2 separate regions of the Homo sapiens genome follow, and region 2 is linked to region 1. The links are contacts of gene promoters, found by promoter capture Hi-C in human tissues and cell types (Jung and others, 2019). All regions are on one chromosome and are shown on one strand. The core of a region is centred on a gene start or on the middle of the fragment in contact, and the rest is flanking DNA. Distances in the headings are between cores, read along the strand shown. Region 1 holds the start of ATF7 (activating transcription factor 7). Region 2 overlaps PCBP2 (poly(rC) binding protein 2).

What was found. Contacts are between HindIII fragments. The study calls those that stand out against the background at their distance.
Region 2: a fragment that was not itself captured here is called in contact with the fragment with the promoter of ATF7 in region 1 in 1 of the 25 tissues and cell types used here (hippocampus).

The regions. Positions count from the first base shown.
Region 1 is chr12:53,623,825-53,628,584 of GRCh38, forward strand. It overlaps ATF7 (activating transcription factor 7), which reads right to left and starts at 2,558. Exons shown (of 12, transcript NM_006856.3): 1 at 2,455-2,558. It overlaps ATF7-NPFF (ATF7-NPFF readthrough), which reads right to left and starts at 2,558. Exons shown (of 15, transcript NR_159377.1): 1 at 2,455-2,558. RefSeq lists an enhancer at 2,415-2,484. The HindIII fragment of the contact is 8,169 bases long and covers 1-4,760 here.
Region 2 is chr12:53,473,245-53,478,004 of GRCh38, forward strand. All of the region lies in intron 14 of PCBP2 (poly(rC) binding protein 2), which reads left to right. Among named protein-coding and RNA genes, the nearest start is that of PCBP2-OT1, 11 kb to the left of the region's middle. The HindIII fragment of the contact is 4,559 bases long and covers 453-4,760 here.

The DNA.
Region 1 (4,760 bases), core at 1,308-3,807:
TGGTTGAAAAAACAATTTTCATTTTGGGTTGGAAATGAGGAAAGGAAAGAGAACAAGATACAGTAAGTAGAGCTATTAACATTTTAAAACCGTGGTAAACAAACGTGTTTAAAAATTACAACACTGAAACTACCACAGGGTGTAAACTTTGATCCACAAGTTGAAAGATGAGCAGTGTTATCACTCTAGCTTTCTGCTAGATGGTAGCACTAGTGAGAAAAAAAAAATCTTGGGTTTAATAGTGCCCTAGTCAAAGCAATCACCAATTCTAGGGCAGAAGACCAAAACAAGGGACTCTGCTCTCTCACTGGGTAATTTTCTGTACTGCTGCCAGGCAAACTGGAAATGTTCTGAATGTCCAATAGCAATGCACTTACTGTGAAATACTAGAACCCAGCTCAGTAGTTAATGCTAACGGGTCAGCAATGAATTGGTCTCAATGTGCTATAGGGGCAACTTCTTGGCCAGGGAGAAAGGCTTCAGCTGATTGCAGAAAACCAAAGGTTAATACAACTACGTACTCTGGTTTCTCTTCATGTAATAGCTTTACTGATATTTCAGACATTATTTCCCTTCTCAAAAGTAAAAGGAGAAGAGAAGGAATGTAAAAGCAAAATCTACGCAAGAGCAAAGAAGTTATTAATTGGCTATATTAGTCCAATTCGTTATTAAATGATACACAACTATCAAACAAAGGGCAAAGCCCTGTCCCTTTTCTGTACAGAATTAAGAACTGGTAAGACTACTTAGCAGAGCTTGCAAACTTTTCTTTAGCTTCTTTTCTTACAGACATGTTACATTTCGCAAGAGCCTCCACTTACCTTACAACTTCCATGTGTAAGTACAAATTGTGTTTGATTTCCCCAGCCCTTGGCCTAAGATATTATGACATAGCTTTAGTTTCTGAGTCTGGACACAAAGGAAAAAACTGAACATTTTTCACTTTCCTGAAATAACATGTCTATTTTATTTACACTATTTAAAAACACATTATGTAAGTTAACTAAAACAAACTGCAACCACCCATTCGACAACTCTTCGAGAATGACTGGGGAAGCCACATTTAACAAAACAAACTTCATTTTAGTATATTTCTGCTTAGAATGCCCATAAAGACTGATATCGCTACAAGAATTACACTACTGCAAAATTTTTAAACACAGGACTCATGTGAGCTTGCTGAGAAAACTCTGCACACCCCCTACACACCTGTACTTAATATGACATGACCCTCAGAGATACTAAAACACCCTCTGTTAAGCAGAAAACAAACTTTTAAAGTTAGGAAAGTAGCAACGCGGGAATCTGGGTAGGAGGTGCCCTGGGTTGTAAACACCCCAGTCAGAGAACATAACAAGCAATTCAGAGCAACATATTAAGTCCCTATGGGGCTCCAACTTGGACTGCTTAAGTCCCAAGACCACATCCTGGTGTCTGGGAAGAGTTTGGGTAATAGAAGAGAGGGAGAAGGAAAATCAGAGAAGCGATGAAAGCGTTCTATTTTTCTCCTTCTCAACCCCCATCCCAGCATCTTGGAGGCTGGTCACCAGTCTGGGTGCCATATCCACCAGAAGCCCTAAATCAATATCCCAACCACCTGATACCTAGGCTAAAGACATGTGTATATCAGCCATCTCCTTCCCAAACACCTCTTATCGCTCTCAAGGCTCATATCCTTCCAGAAGCCATGCCTTATGGCGACTCAGCTCACCCATACTGTCCTCTTAAATTAATTCACTTAATTTTCTCCAAATCCATACTTTCTCTCTGATATCATGTCCCTGATGTTCTTTTAATTAATTCAATCAAAATGCCATGACCCTCATTTCCAATAATCCACCCCATCTATCTTTTCTGCCAAACCCAACGGGGTGTTGTGTCACCAGATCAAGATCTTTGTTCTCATCTACTCATTCCTACCTCCTTCCTATTACCCTTTTCCAATTCCAAGCTCCTAATCCCACTCTTTGGGAAGCCCTGGGTTTCTAACTTAGTTTAGTATCCCTCCTCTTTCTCCCATTCCACCCCATCCCATGATCCTTCCATTAGGCTCCACTAGACTACCCTTCCCTCAGGATTCAATTCCCCTCTCCTTGCCACGCCCTGTGCCCCCCGGGGCTACTTACACCAAGTTCTCCCCACACTTCAAGCCTCTGGCCCCGCCTTCCCCCCAAAGGAAGGAGGCGGGAGTAGGGAGAGAAGGGCGGCGCTCGGCAACGTAAAAGCGATCTCCCATTAGCGCTCATCGCCGCCAATCGAGGCTTCCTTCTCTCCCATTGGTCGGCTTTGGCCTATGCCCCACCCTCTTCCTCAGACAGGGCCCGGCCACCGCCTCAGCGCCCCCGTCCAACACAGACTGGGAGGGGAGACCCCAGCCTGGAACGCTGGGACTGGCCAGAGTTGAAAGGGAGACTCCCGTCAGATCATGGACTAGCTAATGTTAAAAGGACTTACCGGCTGGTAGCTCCGTTGCCTCCCGCCTGCCCGCGCTCGGTCCTACAATCTGTCTCCAGCTCCTCCTTTCCCCCCTTGGCGGAACGGATACTTTCCTCCCGTCCGGCCAGGCGCGCTCAACTCTCGCGAGAAGTCATGGGTCCGCGGGGGAAGGGCGAGATCCGTGGGGGCTGAGTTGGAAAGCGGCCGAGAGGCGGGGGCTCCGGGAAAAGAAGGGGCCGGGCTTACTGTGGGCAGGGCTGGGGAGGGAGACTGAGCGAGTACTGTCCACACAGGTCACACGTGTTCGGCTGCAGAATCTAGCGGGAGAAAGAAAGGAAAAAGGAGAGAGGATCTTTACAGGTGCCTGTAGTGGTGGTTACTACTATCTTTCAGAGTCATCGCTTCCTTAACGGCAAAGTAATTTAAAATACCCTTAGCGCTAGAAATGAAGTCCATGTACGGACAAAGCAATCCACCCGCACAGCAATTCTAACACTACCATTTTACTAGCCCTATTGCCTTGGGTGAAAACCTTCTCTGAGTCTCTGTACAATGGGACTAACAATCTCATTTTATTCAAATAGTTGTAATGATCAAATGAGATACATGAAACTGCTTGGGGATTTTTTAAAATCACTATATTATTCAGCAAATATTTTCACAAAACGTAGGGCATACTACATGCAAAGCATTGTTCTGCAGTCGAATGCTCTATCCCTGAGCTATACCCCCCGTGCAAAGCATTGTTCTAAGCATGGGGTTAAGGAGTTACCAACCCAGGTAGAATTTATATTTGAGTGAGGAAGGGGAGACAGTTAAAAAGCCAATAAACACAAATATTTCAAATAGTGAAAAGCGCTTCAGGATAGTGAGACAGAAGGTGACTAGGAGTGGGGAAGAAGCTTTACTCCTAGTGTTTGAGAGAAGACCTCTTTGAGGAAGTAACACACCAGGAGTTGAATTATGACCTGGGAAGATTTCGGGGGAAATATCAAATGCAAAGTCTATAGTCTTACATTTATATGTCTTGTTCAAGACAAACCAGGAAAAGAAAAAAGAAAAACAAAAAACAGGCTGGGTGCAGTGGCTCACGTCTGTAATCCCAACACTGCTAGGCCGAGGCAAGAGGATCGCCTGAGCCCAGGAATTTGAGACCAGCCTGGGCAACATGGCGAAAACTCAGCTCTACGAAAAAATATAAAATTAGCCGGGCATGGTGGCCTGCACCTGTAGTAGCTATTCGGGGGGCTAAGTGGGAAGATCGCTTGAGCCCAGGAGGTTGAGGTGGCAGTGAGCCCACATCAGGCCACTGCACTCCAGCCTGGACAACAGAGTGAAACCCTGTCTCGATAAATAAATAAAATAAATAATTTTCTTAAAATTTAACGAATTGTAGTTGACTTAAAATATTATCTATGGAATCTCTGTTCTCTCCTTTTGCAGCTTTATGTTACTCAGCTTTCTGAACTTTCTGTCTAGCATCTCATCTATCCTCACAGCACCCTCTGAGAGGTAGGAAGAATCTGGGTGATTTCTCCCTAGATACCTAAAATGAAACAGATGTAAAATCTTTCTTTCTTATGTAGTGAATTGAGAAAAGTTGAGAGGAGTCTTGGCTTCCAAACTATTCTCCCCTAAAACAATTCCTACTTAAAAGAATACAGTGATGGAAACATACCTTAAATATATAAGAAAAATTTGTATGTTGGCCGGGCGCAGTGGCTCACGCCTGTAAATCCCAGCTACTCAGGAGGCCGAGGCAAGAGAATCACTTGAACCTGGAAAGCGGAGGTTGCAGTGAGCCAAGATCCCGCCATTGCACTCCAGCCTGGGCAACAACAGCGAAACTCCGTGTCAAAATAAATAAATAAATAAATAAATAAATAAATAAATAAAAATAAAATCAGAGGGAAAAGGATTCTACAAATCGTGGTGGAACAATTGGCTATCGCTGTATACATGCAATAGCTAATATTTATAGATTTTACTATGTTCCAGGTACTATTCTAAATTGATGTTTTTTGTTTGTTTGTTTGTTTTTGTTTTTTGAGACGGAGTCTTGATCTGTCACCAGGCTGGAGTGCAGTGGCACGATCTCAGCTCACTGCAACCTCCACCTCCTGGGTTCAAGCGATTCCCCTGCCTCAGCCTCCCGAGTAGCTGGGACTACAGGCGCACGCCACCACACCCAGCAAATTTTTGTATTTTTAGTAGAGACGGGGTTTCACCATGTTGGCCAGGATGGTCTCAATCTCTTGACCTTGTGATCTGCCCGGCTTGGCCTCCCAAAGAGCTGGGATTACAGGCATGAGCCACTGCGCCCG
Region 2 (4,760 bases), core at 1,482-3,981, 150 kb before region 1:
CAGCTAATTTTTGTATTTTTAGTATAGACGGGGTTTCACCATGTTGGCAAGGATGGCCTCGATCTTTTGACCTTGTCATCCACCTGCCTCGGCCTCCCAAAGTGCTGGGATTACAGGCGTGAGCCACTATGCCCAGCTTGTTTTTCTTATTTGTAATTAGGATTTTGGAGGGCAAGAAGTTTTCAGTTTTCAGTGGCAAGAATCAGGTTTTTGAAAGCTGGAATTTGTTTTGTTCTTTCGATAGGCTTGCCCTTCATGTAATTTAAATTGTGACTGTTTAAATGTGACCTGCTTGCCTAGCTCCTGCAATAGGTCAGTGGCTACATTGTAAGGAAGCAGAATTCTCTTGGTAGAGTGGCTCTTTTCAGGATCATTGTTACTGAATAGCAATTCGGTATCTTAGCCATGGATTAGGGTCAAAACTTTTCAAAGCTTCATCTAACACCAAAGCAAAGATTATGCATGCACAAAGCTTATTCTTTCTCAACTTGGTGCAGTTTAAATGCAGAAGTCAAAGGGTTTTTTTTTTTTTCCTTTCTCATTTTTTTTAAGTCAAGAAGGATTTTACTGGATTCTGAGCATTTTCTCCTGTCTCTTGATTTTTCATGGTGGCAGTCTGTCCTTTTATATAGTTAGTTGACTTCTGTATCCCTTTCCTTTATGGATTGCAGCTGTCCTTGGACATAGGTAAATAAAATGAGGTTTTAAGAGGAGCCTTTCTGCTCTTGAAGACTTAGCGTTGTGGGCTCAATTGTCCAGGCACACTTCCCAAATATATGTAGTTCTGGCTTAGACACATACAGGCATTTGGGAGACATGTACCCTTACTGTTCTGTGGAGCTTATTTTGGGAGTGGAAGCAGCAGCATTTTCGCTTAAGTATGAATTTTTAGGTGATACTTGAGTTTCTCTTTTCCACTTCTGAAAGGTCCACATTAGAAGTATGATCAGTCAGAAACAACTTTTTATACCACCTCCCACCAGAAAAGCTTCCCTAGTTCTTATCTACACTTCTGTTCTCAGCATTTTTCTTTGAAAACGCTACATTCTTTGAAATTTGAAATTAGTCAGTGACCTACTTTGGACTCTTGTCTCTTTCCACCCTGATACTGGTTTGTTTGCTGTGGAGATGTAAGCAGACTTTAATACATAGCTGGAAGGATTTTTAAAAATTCTGCTTTATAAATATTCAAAGCTTCACAAGTAATTGTGGGATAATTGATTTTCTGTTAGAATAGGAAATTGACATTTGATTAGAGGAAACATTTCTTCCTTGTTGGGTGATTGATGAGTATCTTTTTCTACCCGAAATCATTCCTTCAACATCTGGGTTGGGTCAGTGTGTCAGATACATGAAGTATGTGCCCTATGATTTCTTTTCTCTGTCAGCTTTTTCTTCACCATAGCAGTTTTTAAGTAGCTCTGTGGAATGGAAATATACATATTTAGAGGGTGGGACATAGGCTAAAAGAAAGCTTGTCACAAGTTGACACTAGGTCTTCCTAATTGTCAACCAGAGGCACTTACTGATATAACTGAAGCAGTTTTTGTCCTGTACTTACTCCCTTTTGTGGTCTTCCCTTCCACCCACCCTTTTTTTTTGTTCCTTTTTTCCTCTGTTACAGTTTAGAAAACGCTAAACCCTCCTCCCAGGCAGCCTCCGTCACGATCCCTGATCACCTCAGCATCAACCTCTCTCAACCCTCCACCCCTTCTTCTTCTTCCTCCTCCACCACCACCCCCTCGCTCGCCACAGCGGGGACCTCCGACGCACCCTCCAGCCTCCCCAACCCTCTTCCGACCGCCCCTTGTGTCTCCAGTCTGCTTGGCATGAAACCCATCCCTCTCCTGGCTCTAAATGTTGTGTCTGCTGCTAAGGGTACCGGGGCTTCAGCTACCACCACCACCACCTCTGCCGTGCCATGTGTAACTAACAAACTGAAAGGCGAGAAACAGAGATTCTCTCCCTACTGATTGCATACCTTGAGGCACCTCCTCCAGTATTATTTTGTTCATTTTGTTTTCCTTTGTTAACATTGGTGAGAATGAAACTATTGTGAGCTTGTTACCGTTTCCTTTTTACTACTTTGGGGGATAACTGGGTGGGGGTGGGGGAGTGGTAACCCTTGTTTAGGTTTAGGCCATTTCAGCTGAGTGCCTGTTTCAGGGTCTGACTTGAATTCTTTATCTAGAGCCACAGTTTTCTCTTCTTTCTTGTTTGTTACTTTTCTTTGTAGCTTTATTCTGCCTTGCAATATAACAATGTGTTAGGCTCTGTGTTAATGAATAAAAGCTGCTTCGTTAACTTTTTTTTTTTTTTTTAAGAATTATTTAATGGTTAAGCTATCAGCAGGCCTTCTTGGCCATATTTGTGTTTCTAGCTGTAATAAAGTTGGCGCAGTAAGAACCTTAGTACACTGTGTGCTGTGAAGGGTAAAGGGTTGGGGGCTTGTGACTTGTGGCTATTCAGCTAGGAAGCCTGTATAACTGACATGGGCTTTTTGAATCCCAAGTGAATTTTATAGTCGTTTGTCAATATTTCCACAAAGAGATAACGAGTCTGTGGCAGTTTAGATCCTGAAGGTCCTCTGTAATTGGCAACAAGCTTCACTAGTGAGGAAGTTTATCTGACTTCTCAGATGGCCTTACCTTGCCAGCAGCAGCTAACAAGGTGTTCATCCCAGGATTCCTCTGGTGAATGGTTACCATGAGGATCTCTTCCAAGTCATACATTCAAAGAACATACTTCTTTACCCAGAATGAAGGGGAGGGGCAAAGTGGGATAAGTCTAATAAAATTAGGCAGCTTCTGTCTGCATTCCTCTGAATTAGCATTATGCCTCTTTCTGTGACATTAGGTATATCTCAGCCAACCCGTGACATTATCCACAACTTGACATGATGCCATCCACTAGTCCTAAACCAACTCTGTCAACCAAGTTTCTTTACCCTTTTTTCTATTCCTGGCCGTATCCTTTCTGCTCCCCACCAGCACTATCAGGAGTAGGAAGTGACATGCTTAGATTTGGAAGGAACCTTAAGGATCAACTAATCTGTAACACATTGATCCCCTCATTTTACAGATTAAAAAATAGAGGCCCTAAGATAATTTAAATTCATAGGTTATGAGTGACTAGCCAGGACTAACAACTTAAGCTTTACTTTTACTCAATCGTACTAACCTCCCTGAAATCTTGTTCATTTTCTTATACTAAGATGGGCACAGGCCTCTCATAAAACAGTAGAAATGTTCTTAGTATGGTGGTATAAGGCCTCTGATAGCCTTCCATTCAACGAGAGTACACGTTGCCACAGTGCTGAAAGTGTAATGCTCTTCCCAGGGCATTAGAGAACTCAGTGTAGAGATAGTTTCCCTGATGACCTTTTCCCAGCATCACCATTGGCTGACAAAAAAAAAAAAGCTGTTAGTATTCCAATATATTATCTCATTCTTTGATGTTATTTTGGCCCCTCCATCCCAGATTGGGCCTGTGAAGAAGTGTTACACGTCTCAAGTATGCATAAAGGATTAGATGGCCAAACCTGTCCAGTAAGGAGTTTTATTTAGTTGCTCCTTTATCATGTGGTCCAGCTCTCTCCCTTGGTAAGCTTGCTCCTCCTGTAGTTAGGACTTAATCATGCTGATACCATCTCCCCCCAGGGATGTGGTTTTATCTAGTTCTTGATTGGAAGGCCTCTTAACCTAATGGCTATTCCCCAAGGAAGGATTCCACATGTTTAAGGGTCTAGCTACCATCACTACCTCCAAAGGGCCTCAGTTTTAAATTTTTTTAAACCCTAGAGCTCCCCCATGTGGTCTTTTATCCTAGAGTACCTGACTCAGTATTTCATAGCATCCCCTTCTCCCTGCGTCACCTCCCCCACCCCAGCAAATCCCCATTCGGGCTTGATACACATTCAGAACATTTCTTTCAGAGCTCTGGTGGGGCCAGAGTGCTACCACCAATTTTTATGAACTTAAATTTTCAGGTCCTAGATCTAATGGTATCTAGCAGTTCCTTTCTTAGACCTTCAGTTCTTACTGAACCCTTTAATCCAGGGCTATTGTTTACCTTTCCTTAGATCATTGTGTTTTGAAATTGGCACGAATCTACCCCCCTTTTAAGAACTAAATATCCCCTGCCGGGCACGGTGGCTCACGCCTGTAATCCCAGCACTTTGGGAGGCCGAGGCGGGTGGATCACGAGGTCAGGAGATCAAGACCATCCTGGCTAACACAGTGAAACCCCGACTCTACTAAAAACATAAAAAAATTAGCTGGGCATGGTGGTGGGCGCCTGTAGTCCCAGCAACTCGGGAGGCTGAGGCAGGAGAATGGCGTGAACCTGGGAGGCGGAGCTTGCAGTGAGCCGAGACCGCGCCACTGTACTCCAGCCTGGGTGACAAAGCAAGACTCTGTCTCAAAAAAAAAAAAAAAAAAAAAAAAAAAAACCCTAAATATTCCCTTAATACTGAGGTGGAGAAACCATTTCTGACTAAAAGTAAATAGTTTGTAGTCGAAGGACTTTGCAGTTTTTTGGCCCTTGCTTTTCTACCCAGCTTTTGGCTTTGCATTGTTGTGGAAGGGATACAGATGGTGAATTACCAATCATGTTTTCATGACCACATATCACAAATATTTTATGCTAATCAGTTTAAAATCTTATGAAATAACTTATCTTATGAACTGAAATGAAGTCTTATACATTTGGTTCTATTCAAAATGAGGGCAAAGTCTTGCTGCCTACCTACCTACCAGTGA